Regions from separate parts of the Homo sapiens genome. Here regions 2 and 3 are each linked to region 1. Evidence: promoter capture Hi-C in human tissues and cell types (Jung and others, 2019). All regions are on one chromosome and are shown on one strand. Each heading gives the region's core, a stretch centred on a gene start or on the middle of the fragment in contact. The rest is flanking DNA. Distances are from core to core; before and after follow the strand shown. Region 1 holds the start of COL11A1 (collagen type XI alpha 1 chain). Region 2 overlaps COL11A1 (collagen type XI alpha 1 chain). Region 3 has its middle 47 kb from the start of COL11A1.

Region 1 (3,961 bases), core at 985-3,484:
TGCTTTGCCTGAAAGGACCCTTTCACAGCAGTGAGAAGGTCTGAGTTGTGACCAGAAAGTAGGGACTGCTAGATTGACTGCATCATTTCTCACCTTCTAGAACAGTATCAGGCCCCAGAACTCTCAATAAATTTGAGAGCTATTAAGAGACAATTTGGAACACCATTTGTACATGTTGCTACAAGCACCGTAACTCTCTCTGGCTATTGAATTGATTTAGAATTCTGGCAGCTTCACAAATACGTATTTCTAAACTTGCATTCATTTCACTATTTTACATTTGAGAGAAGATGTAAAAAGTAATTTTTAAAATATCTGAAGAGTCGACAGAAAAATCAGTTTGTACACAAGTTTGGAAACAGCCAATATATACAAATTTTCCATCTGTGAGACGATGAGGGATAATGAAGATGGTAAATACATATATTTTTACTGTAAGGGTCTTAATTTGTAATTGTGCATTTCAGGTTCAAATGCAATATGATATTAAATTATTTTAACCAACAGTTTAAGGTTGTAATCTGAAGAACTAGTTGATGATATTTCTCTGCAGCTGATATGAGGCATCCCAAACATTCTGCCAACAGCATTACAAATGTCAAGTATTTTTTTACCTGTGATCTAAGAGATAGCTTCTTGATAAAGGAGTAGTTCTTTGTTATGGAGAGTGATATTTATATTGAAGGTATTTTCTAGTTGCTTTCTTCAGTTTATATGTCTCTGTTCATGCTGTTATACCCCTATAAGGGCTCAATCTAGTCTTTGATCACCTTTCTTCCAATTTTAAACTGCATGAAGAGATTTGATGTAATCTGATAGATCATGAGGCATATTTTGATGACTAATAGAAAACTGAGTTCCTAAAGATTAGTGGCAGCTGTAGAATTGAACATATGTACCCAGTAAACTTAGTTGAGGGCCTTTAAGCATTTAAATGACTTAAATACTCAAAGTAGGCCCTGGCCAATGCTTCTAGTCTTTGTCAACAGAAAAATGTGTTCATTCATCCAACCCATCTCTATTGAGTGGCTAATGTATGCTGGCACCCTGATGGGCACTGTTCCAGAAAATCTTTGAGAGAAACATCTTAGGAATTATTAACGAACAAAAAGGAGTCAATAGAATGGAATGATTTTAACGTGGAAAAAGTGACTTGGGAATCTATATTCCAGGTGTAAGAGGATTACTTTGAGGATGGGTTAAGTAGAGAGGGAATTTAGAAACCTGCCCTCTTCATTACTCTCACTGTGGAGTGACCACGTTTTTGGCTCCCGAGGCTGAGGGCCAGGGCCAGGCCCTTAATGAGGAGCTGTGGGCCGAGCCTCTTGGAGATTTCTGCTAGTTGCTTTCCTCGCCTTTTCTACACACTCCTCAGTACCCCCTCATCCAGGATCAGAACAGAATCAGCTGGAAAATTAAATTACTCACCCTCTTAATGTCAGCTCCCATAAATTTTTTCCTCCTTCTCCCTCAGAGTACAGTTCAACTCTTTTAAGAGGAAAGCCACTGAATGAACCTAGTGCTGAATTTAAACGTTTAAGAGATAAACCTGTCAGTTTCAGATCTCCAAAGAGGACTTCCCTACATGCTCTAGGTTTTGACTTCTAGGGTCCCTCCATTCTATCTTCATTCCTTTCTTCTAATTATTGGGTTAAAAAAATAAAAATAAAAACACTTTTCAGAGTAGGCAGCGCAATGAGTCCACTGGTTCCACGTCTGCCATACGAAGCAGATTTTTGCACAAGGATAAGGTTACCGCTGCCAGCCCAGGACTCCAGCGGTGTGGCCGATCAGGCGCTGGCCTCCTCCCCTCTCCCGCCGACCAGCGAGAGGCTAACAGACGGGTGCAAGTAGACAAGTAGCTGTTTTTATTGAATACAGAAGCTCCTTGAAAACTCCGTGTGCTCCGGGGCTCTCCTGCAATTCCTTTCATTCCCAAAGTGCTGGAGCCAAGCACGCGTCCCCCGTAACTCCCTCCCATTTTTTCTCGGGGATTTGGTAGGCGAGGAGGGAGGAGAGGAGTGGGGAGATGGGGGGTGGTTGGTGGGCTGGGCCTGCTCGGAGTCCTCATTCTTGGGCTGAGGGAGGCGGGGGCGGGCTTGGGGCCGCCCCAGAGTCGTGTGATTGGGTCTGACCCTCAGCCTGCTTGTCAGTTTCGCCCTGGGAGGGGGAGCTGGGAGCAGGGAGGGGAGTGGGCGGAGGAGGGGGCTGCCCGGAGCCACTCGTCCAGCCCACTGACGGCATGAAGCCTTTAGGGGCACACAGTACTCTCAGCTTGTTGGTGGAAGCCCCTCATCTGCCTTCATTCTGAAGGCAGGGCCCGGCAGAGGAAGGATCAGAGGGTCGCGGCCGGAGGGTCCCGGCCGGTGGGGCCAACTCAGAGGGAGAGGAAAGGGCTAGAGACACGAAGAACGCAAACCATCAAATTTAGAAGAAAAAGCCCTTTGACTTTTTCCCCCTCTCCCTCCCCAATGGCTGTGTAGCAAACATCCCTGGCGATACCTTGGAAAGGACGAAGTTGGTCTGCAGTCGCAATTTCGTGGGTTGAGTTCACAGTTGTGAGTGCGGGGCTCGGAGATGGAGCCGTGGTCCTCTAGGTGGAAAACGAAACGGTGGCTCTGGGATTTCACCGTAACAACCCTCGCATTGACCTTCCTCTTCCAAGCTAGAGAGGTCAGAGGAGGTAAGAAAAAATGGATTTGGGGAGGTGGGAGATTGCCGTCGGTCCTACTGCTTCTGCGCCCCTCCCCCCACTTTACCCTTCCTCCCCGCTCTTCAAGAAAAAAAAAAAAAAGCAATTCCCTTAAATACAATCCAGATTGTAGCTGCTACCAGGTTGGAATTGGAAACTGGAGAAAGAGATGAATGTAGGCGGGACAATAAAGGGAGACGAGGTAGGTAGCAGGAAAAAAAGATCTGTCAGGAGGAGAGCCTGCTGAAAATGCCCTTCACCACTTTCCAGCCTCTTTGAAAAGAGGAAAAATATTACCTTGAACACAAGGGCAGTTATACAAAGCTTTTGTTTGAGGCACAGTCTTTAGACTGCCCTTGGAACACATCTGGTTTCTTCAGATTCTAACTAATGGGAATATCTTTTTAAGGGTGAGCTGAGGAGAAAATATAAAGGGTATAAAATGAACCTTGATAAAGTTCTTTGTCTGCAACCAAGTGAGAAGCAGGCTGTTTTAGTTTTGGGGATATAAGAGAAACCAGGGGGGTGAATCTAGAAGATTAGGAACACTCTGTGTGTTTGGGGGGCGGGGGAGGGTCAATCTATTTTAAGTGGACAAAAATTGGCAGATTATTAGGAATAGGTTCAAGATAGGGAGAACACTTTCCCCTGAATTTCAGTGACTCCCCCCACCCCACCCCTCCGCTTCTTCTTGCAGGTTGGACGTGCAGTTCTCTTGGAGAATGATGAAAGTCGCCAAGCAAATGGGGTGGGGGCGGAGGACTAGGGATTGGGAGGGAAGGGGAGGGGGTGTGGGTAGGGTGGGAGGAGAGAGGTAAGGAACAGTTCCTACGTGGCACCACCAAATATTCAATGGCCAGACCTGCTCGGAAGTCTGCAACCCTGTCAGTACCCACGGAGGGAGAGCGACTTCACTCCTCCCCTCCGCCTTCTCCCTCCCTCTTTCCCCCGCCCTTTCCCGAAAAGGCATCTGGCTGGAGCGGTCCGTTAGGTGCCTTAGAATCGACTGGCAGGCGAAAGCCTTTGGAGGTCAGGGAGCCCAGACAGCTTAGAGTAGAAAGCAAGCTTTGTGAGGAGTGCAGAAAGAAGCTGGGGGATAGGAAGGAGGGTGACTGACGAGGTTGGGTCAAGGGAGATAAAAATGGTCAAGCCCAAATGCGTAGGCTTTAGCAGAAACTTGAGTGTGGCCCTGGGTCTAGATGCCAAGATCTGAGCTCTCCCTAATGAGAGTCAGCCCTCCCGGAGGCCGATCTCTGAGACCAGGTTATT
Region 2 (3,961 bases), core at 444-2,943, 47 kb after region 1:
ACTGCATCAACTAGGACTCCCAGTATGATGTAGAAATGCAATATTAACAGAGGACATCCTTGCCTTCTTTCTGATCAGTTTGAGAAAATGTCCTTCTGTTCCTAGTTTTCAGAACATGTTTTAAAATCATGAATGAATGCTGTATTTTGTCAAATGCTTTCCTGCATCTATGATATGATAATTTATTTATTTTTTCTTTAGCTTGTTGATGGTGATACTAATTTATTTTCAAATATTGAAACAGCCTGGCATACCTGGGATAAATTCCACTTGACTATGGCATTTACTTATTTTATATACCTTGGGATTCAATTTGATAATATTTTGTTAAGGATTTTTGCATTTATGTTCATGAGAGATATTGGTCTGTAGTATTATTTTCTTTTAATGTTTTCACCTGGTTTTGATATTAGGGTGATGTGACCTCATAAGATCAGTTAGTAATATTCCTTTCGCTTCTATATTCTGAAAAAGGTTGCAGAGAATTGGTATATCTTTTTCCTTAAATGTTTGATAGACTTCAACAGTGAACCCATCTTGTTCTGATGCTTTCTCTTTAGAAAGTTTATTAATTTTTGATTCAATCTTCTTATTGGACCTTTTCAGATTTTCTAATTCTTTATTTATGAGTTTTTACAGATTGGATCTACCAAGGAATTGACTTATTTCATCTAATTTATCAAATTTGTGGGCACAGAGTTTTTCATAATATTCTTTTATCATCCTTTTAATGTCCATGGGATCTGTGGTGATATCTCCTCTTTTTCCTGCCAATAATAATTTGTAACTTATCTCTTACTTAGTTGGCTTAGCTAGAGGCTTATAAATTTTATTAACATTCTGAAAGAATCAGGTTTTGGTTTGGATGCTAATTCTATGGTGACTTTCTGCTGTCTGTTTTATTACTTCTGGTGTAATTTAATTTTCTTTTGTTCTGTTTATTTCAGATTTATTTTCCTCTTTTTTGTTTAGATTCTTAGGATAGAAGCTTAGACAGTTGATTTTAGATCTTTCCTCTTTTCTAATATATTCATTCAATGCTATAGATTTCCCTCAAAGAAAAGTTATATTTTGATTTTTATTTTGTTTATAATATTTTTAAATTATTCCTGAGATTTTGTCTTCAATCCATGTATTAGTTAGAAGTATGTTTTTACATTTCCAATTATTTTGGGATTTCCCAGTTATCTTTCTGTTACGGTTTGAGAGCAGTTATTGGATTATGTATATTTGTTCAAATTTTTAAGAGTTTTCTTTTTGGCCATGAATGTAGTATATCTTGAGGAATGTCCATGTGAACTTTAGAACGATAAGTAATCTGCTGTTATTGGTTATAGGAGTATATATATGAAAATTATCTTTTTTGATTAATAGTGTTTTTAGTTCAACTTTGTCCTTACTAATTTCTGCCTGCTGTATATTTTCATTTCTGTTAGAATGGTGTTTACCATTTAAATGTAATAGTGGATTCATCTATTTTTCCTTCCATATCTATTAGATTTTGCTTCATGTATTTTGTTAGGTGCATATGCATTAAAGATTTATGTCTTTTTGGTGCACTGACCTTTTTACCCTTATTATCATGTAATGCCTCACTTTATCTCTAATAATTTTCCCTGCTCCAAAGTTTGCACTGTGTGAAATTAATTTAGCTACTCCTGTTTTCTTTTTATTAGTTTTAGAATGTTATACCTTTATACCCTTCCTTTTACTTTGTATGTGTTTTTATATTTAAAGTGTGTCTCTTGTAGACAACATGTAATTGAGCCTTGGTTTTTTTTTGATCCACTCTGACAACCTGTCTTTAATGAGTGTATTTAAATCATTCATATTTAAGGCAATTATATATATAGTTAGAATAATATTCACCATATATGTTATTATGTTCCATTTATTACCCTGGGCTCAGGTGATCCTTCCAGTACCACCATGCCTGGCTGATTCTTTTCTATTTTTTTGTAGAGATAGGGTCTCACTGTGTTGCCCAGGCTTGTCTCAAACTCCTGGGTTCAATAAATCCACCAGCCTTGGCCTCCCAAAATGCTGGGATTAAATGCATGTGCCGCCTCACCTGGCTAGGTTTTTAAATATGAACTTACACCTATTCCAAGTCAACTTTTAAATAACACTATACTGATTTATGAGTAATGCAAGCAAGTATCTTATAAAATATTTCAAATTCCTCTCTCCTGCCTTTTCTGTCATTGCAATCATTCATTTTACTTATACATAAGCATATATGCAGTGAAATCCATTATTGCTATTATTATTTTGAAAAAACTCATACCTTAGATCAATTAATAATAATAAAAAATATTTTACCTTCACTTATTCATTCTCTGAATAGTTTATGTAGATTTAAGCTTCTCACTTATATAATTTTTATTATTTCTGAAAAGCTTATTTTAACATTGCTTGCAAGGCAGGCCTACTGGCAGCAAATTCCTCAATTTTTGTTTGTCTGAGAAAGTCTATATTTCTCCTTCACTTTTGAAGAATGATTTCTCAGGGTACAGAATTCTAGTTTGGTGGTATTTTTCTCTCAACACTATATATTTCACTTTAGTCTCTCTTTCTTGTATGATTTCTGATAAGTCAGATGTAATTCTTATCTTCGCTTGTATAGGTAAGTTGGTTTTTTTCCCCTCTGGGTTCTTTTAATATTTTTAAATTTATCTTAGATTTTCTGATATTTGAAAATGATATTCCCAGATTTTTGGTCTGATATTTGAATATTATACTTCTGGAATTTTGGTTTGATGTCTGACATTAATTTGGGCAAATTCTCAGTCACTATTGCTTCAAATGTTGGTTCTATTCTTTTCTCTCTTTCTCCTTGTATTCCTATTGTGTGTAATTACATATTTTGTTGTTGTCCCAAAGCTTTTAGATATCCTGTTTAGTTTTGTATTTCCCAGCTTTTTTTCTCTTTGCTTTTAGTTTTGGAAGTTTTGATTATCACCTCCTCAAACTCAGATTCTTTCCTTAGCAGTGTCTAATTTACTAATGAGCCCATCAAATGTATGCTTCATTTCAATTATGGTGTTTTTTATCTACAGCATTTATTTTTGATTCTTTGTTACAGTTATCATCTTTCTGCTTACATTAGCCATTCTGTTCCTGCCTGTTGTCTACTTTTTTATTAAAGTTCTTAGCACGGGAATCATAGTTTGAAAAATTCCTAGAATGATAATTCCAACCTTTCTGCCATATCTGACTCTGGTTTGATGCTTATTCAGTCTCTTTAAACTGTAGTTTCTTTTCCTTGCAGTATGCCTTTTAATTTTGTGTTGAAAGGTGAACATGATGCACTGGGTAAAAGAAACTATGTTTTGTTTTTTTTTAATAAGCCCTTAGCTATGTGTTGGTAAGGTGAAACGGGAAGGACTCATTCTATGATTAGGTCTCAGATTTTGGTGAGCCTGAGCCCTGGACTGTGAATTTTATCAGTGCTTCACAGTCCCTCACCCCATGACCTTAGGTGGAACAGGATGGCTGAAGGTGGCTGGGGTTATTTTCCTTCTTCCACATGGAAGACCAGAGGGAGCTGTAGTAGGGAATTTCCTTTCTTTCACACTGAAGGATAATGCTGCACTGCAGTTAGGCACAACATACATTGTTATATCATGCTTTTCTTTATGCTTTGTGGATATTGCTCTTGTTACAAATTGAAAGTTTGTGGCAACCTTGAATCAAGCAAGTCTGTTGGCATCATTTTTTTCCAGCAGCATGTGCTCACATCATGACTGTGTCACATTTCAATAATTCTCACAATATTTTAAACTTTTTATTATTATTATAAGTATGGTTTATGAGACCCCAAAACAATTACAACTGTAACATTAAAGATCCCTGATCACAGATCACCATAGCAGTTATAAAAATGAAAAGATTTGAAATGTCATGAGAATTACCAAAATAAGTTACAGAGACATGAAATGAGCATATACCATCTTATATA
Region 3 (3,961 bases), core at 380-2,879, 47 kb before region 1:
TAAAGAATGAAAAGGAAGACTATTGGGAAGAAAGTGTTTTTCTAGATTTTCCAGGAACTATTATGTATCTCTTCTTATTGTTACCCACCATACAACTTCATTGAGTTCTACTCAGCGCAGGCATCTCCGAAAAAGTTTGCAATGCATTAACAAAAATGAAAGTCCTCTTCTGAAGGTGAGGTTTTCCAGACTAGCTCATGTATTTTGTGGCAAAGATTATTATCACACGTCCAGGGCTTTGTTTGCCTAGAGTTAATTCCTGTGGTTCCTGTAATTGGAAGGCAATCAGAAGAAGTGGGAAAGAGAGATGTTGGTCAAGGCTAACCATTATTCAGCAGTAGCAGCAGCTTCATGTGTTTGAAATCACTTTGTGGTTTTTCCAGTTTGATTTTTATTTTCTGTTGGACTAAACACTTGCCACTCTTGTTTTGAAGTTAAGGATAATAAAGAGTAGCGTTCTTGGACATCACATTACTTTAATACCTCATTGTTATAATTAATGTCATCCAGAAATCTTTCAAAAGAAGAATATATTATAATAACACTCAGGAAAAGTTTACTGTTCCAGGGTCCATTGCAGATTTTTAAGAAGACCATCCTTAGAGTTTTGCTTGCTTTAAGGGAAGGTAAAGCTTCTTCTTCCGAAGTATTTATAGATAATTCTTAATAACCATGCCAATGAAAGCCCGATATATCCTATGTGAATGTGTTACACAGATAACTTCCCCCATCACTAAATCCTTTTTACTAAGATGTCTTGCTTATCAAATAGTTAACTCAAATAACATATCTGTTGGTGAAGTTGGAGTCATATAGGCAGGTTCATATCTGACCTTATGCTCTGTTAGTTATGTGACCTTGAACATATCACCTAACCTTGTGAGCCATGTTTTCTGATTTGTAAATATGTGACCATTAAGAATTATGAAGTGGCTGATATTTTGCCCTAATTGCAAGCTAGCACATTAACATGCCTCATTTTCATGAATGTTGGCAGAAAACACAAGACTAGAGGATCCAAGAAAAAAGGACATTTTATTGCTCATAGCAATAACAGTAGACAGAAGATCTTCATTTTCTTGTGCCTCATTTGGCACAAAGCAATGCAATTAGGAATATTGAGAATCCAGAGGTATAAGGGACTTCAATATTAAAATTTACTATTTTCCACTATTTTTCTTAAAAACCGTGTTTCATGCCCATTCTCTTTTATCCCTAAATACCGTTTGTCTTGTTCAGTCTTTCCATATTCTTTTGCCAGAGGTCGCCAGAAAATGTGTCTGTTTTTTCAAACAGAGGAAAGGCTTAGAGGATCTACATATTTCTTATAAACTTCAAAATTTATTAATGGTTATTTTCCAGAGGTACCTGGTGTCTCTAAGTACTAAGACTTAGTGGATTCTTTGACATGAAGGTCTTACTTGTTGGCTTGCTCTCTGAACACTTAGATTTTATTTTTTTACCATCTTCTAAATGAAAGTACCACTTTCCAACCATTTTCTGGCTTCTAGAATTTTATTGATATTAAATGTTTGTTATATCTACTCTGTTTCTTTTTTTCTTTGTAGGTGGATGTCTATTTTTTTCCTTCACTCTAATTTAAATAAATTTTCAATAGAATGCACAGATTAGGCCGGGCGCGGTGGCTCATGCCTGTAATTCCAGCACTTTGGGAGGCCAAGGCAGGCGGATCACCTGAGGTCCGGAGTTCCAGACCATCCTGACCAACATGGAGAAACCCCATCTCTACAAAAAATACAAAATTAGCTGGGCGTGGTAGTGCATGCCTGTAACCCCAGCTACTCGGGACGCTGAGGCAGGAGAATCGCTGAACCCCGGGAGGCGGAGGTTGCCGTGAGCCGAGATTGCGCCACTGCACTCCAGCCTGGGCCACAAAAGCGAAAGTCCGTCTAAAAAAAAAAAGAATGCACGGAATAATAAAAAGTTTCTACAAGCATGAGGTCTATGTTCTGAGACATTACTAGCATTTTTCTACCCTCTCAAGTTCCAAGGTATGTTTGTAACTACAAACCTAACACAAATGGCTCTGTGGTATTTAATTATTTTATCTTAACTTGTTCTTTCTTTTCTAGAGATAATAACAACAAAAAAACTTGTTTCTTTTGCTGTGGAGAACTTGTGACACAAATGTATTTTTTTCTAAAATTTTTAAAGGGCCATAATTACAATATTAAAATATTTAATTGATCTATATATGCACACCCACACACATATATATACACACACACATACATACACACACATATATGCACACCACAATTTCTTCATTCATCTGTCAGTGAACACTTAAGTAGTTTCCATGTCTTGTCTATTGTGAGTAATGCTGCAATGAACATGGGAGTGCACATATCTCTTCAAACTATTGATTTTGTTCCTTCAGATATATATCCAGAAGTGAGATTGTTGGGTTATACGGTAGTTCTATTTATAATTTTTTGAGGAAACTCCATACTGTTTTCCATAACAACTGTATCAATTTGCATCACCACCTTCTTCATAGTATACAAGCGTTCCCTTTTCTCTATCTCTTTGCCAAATTTGTTATATCTTAAACTTTTTCATAGCAGTCATCCTAACAGGTGTGAAGTAATAATTCATTCTGGGTTTGAATAACATTTCCTGGTGATTAGTTGAGCATCTTTTTCATGTACATGTTGGTCGTTTGTATACTTACTTTGGATAAATGTCTATTCAAGCGCTTTCTCCCGTTTTTAGTTGAATTATTTGTTTTTGATATTTGTTTGTTTGACTAATTTTTGCTATTGAGTTGTATGAGTTTCTTACATATTCTGGATATTAAAACCTTATTGGACATATGGCTTGCAGATTGTATTAGTCTGTTCTCACACTGCTATGAAGAAATACCTGAGATTAGGTAATTTATAAATGAAAGAGGCTTAATTGACTCACAGTTCCACATGGCTGGGGAAGCTTCAGGAAATTTACAATCATGTTGGAAGGTGAAAGGGAAGCAGGCGCCTTCTTTACAAGCCAGCAGAAGGGAGAAGTGTGAGTGAAGGAGGAACTTGCCAAACACTTACAAAACCATCAGATTTCACGATAACTCTCTAACCATCATGAGAACTGCATGGGGGAAACAGCCCCCATGACCCAATCACCTCCTACCTCTCAAAATATCTGTGATATGGTTTGGTTTTGTGTCCCTCCCAAATCTCATCTCTAATTGTAATCGAGGTGTTGAGAAAGGACTACAGTTTGAGATGAAATTTAGATGGGGACACAAAGCCAAACCATATAACGGATATTTTATTTTACTCTATAACAGTAAGATAAAATTTATTTACTTTTCATTTAGCTGATTGTTTCTTTGCCTCACAGAAACTTTAACTTGATATAGTCCCACTTACTTATTTTTGCTTTTGTTTCTTGTGCTTTTGGTGTTGTATCCAAAAAGTCATTGCAAAGAGCATTGTCAAAAGCTTTTACCTTATGTTCTTTTTCCCTGCTTTTATAGTTTCAGAGCTTGCATTTAAGTTTAATCTATTTCAAGTTAATTTTTATGAGTGATGTACAATAGCCATCTAATTTTATTTATTTTAATGAAGATAGCCAATTTCCCAACACCATTTATTGAAGAGATTATCATGTCCCCATTTTCTGTATTGTTGACACTCTTGTCAAATATTAGTTGACCATATACGCCTGAGTTTATTTCTGAGTTGTTCATTCTATTGCAATGGTCTATGTGTCTGTTTTTATGCAAGTACCACACTAGTTTGATTACTGTAGCATTGTAATGCACTTTGAAATTAGAAAGTGTGATTACTCCAGATTTGTTCTTCTTTCTCAAGATTGCTTTGGCTACCTTGAATCTTTCCTGATTCAATACAAATTTTGGAATTTTTTTCTTATTTCTCTGAAGAATGCCATTGGGATTTTGATAAGGATTGCACGGAGTCTATAGTTCTTTTTGAGTGGA

The links. Contacts are between HindIII fragments. The study calls those that stand out against the background at their distance.
Region 2: a contact is called between a fragment that was not itself captured here and the fragment with the promoter of COL11A1 in region 1, in 3 of the 25 tissues and cell types used here (aorta, bladder and hippocampus).
Region 3: a contact is called between a fragment that was not itself captured here and the fragment with the promoter of COL11A1 in region 1, in 1 of the 25 tissues and cell types used here (H1 embryonic stem cells).

The regions. Positions count from the first base shown.
Region 1 is chr1:103,106,795-103,110,755 of GRCh38, reverse strand. It overlaps COL11A1 (collagen type XI alpha 1 chain), which reads left to right and starts at 2,234. Exons shown (of 67, transcript NM_001854.4): 1 at 2,234-2,683. The coding sequence starts at 2,578. The HindIII fragment of the contact is 6,490 bases long and covers 1-3,387 here.
Region 2 is chr1:103,058,796-103,062,756 of GRCh38, reverse strand. The region is part of intron 4 of COL11A1 (collagen type XI alpha 1 chain); the gene reads left to right. Among named protein-coding and RNA genes, the nearest start is that of COL11A1, 48 kb to the left of the region's middle. The HindIII fragment of the contact is 5,903 bases long and covers 1-3,961 here.
Region 3 is chr1:103,153,476-103,157,436 of GRCh38, reverse strand. No RefSeq gene overlaps it. Among named protein-coding and RNA genes, the nearest start is that of COL11A1, 47 kb to the right of the region's middle. The HindIII fragment of the contact is 3,157 bases long and covers 51-3,207 here.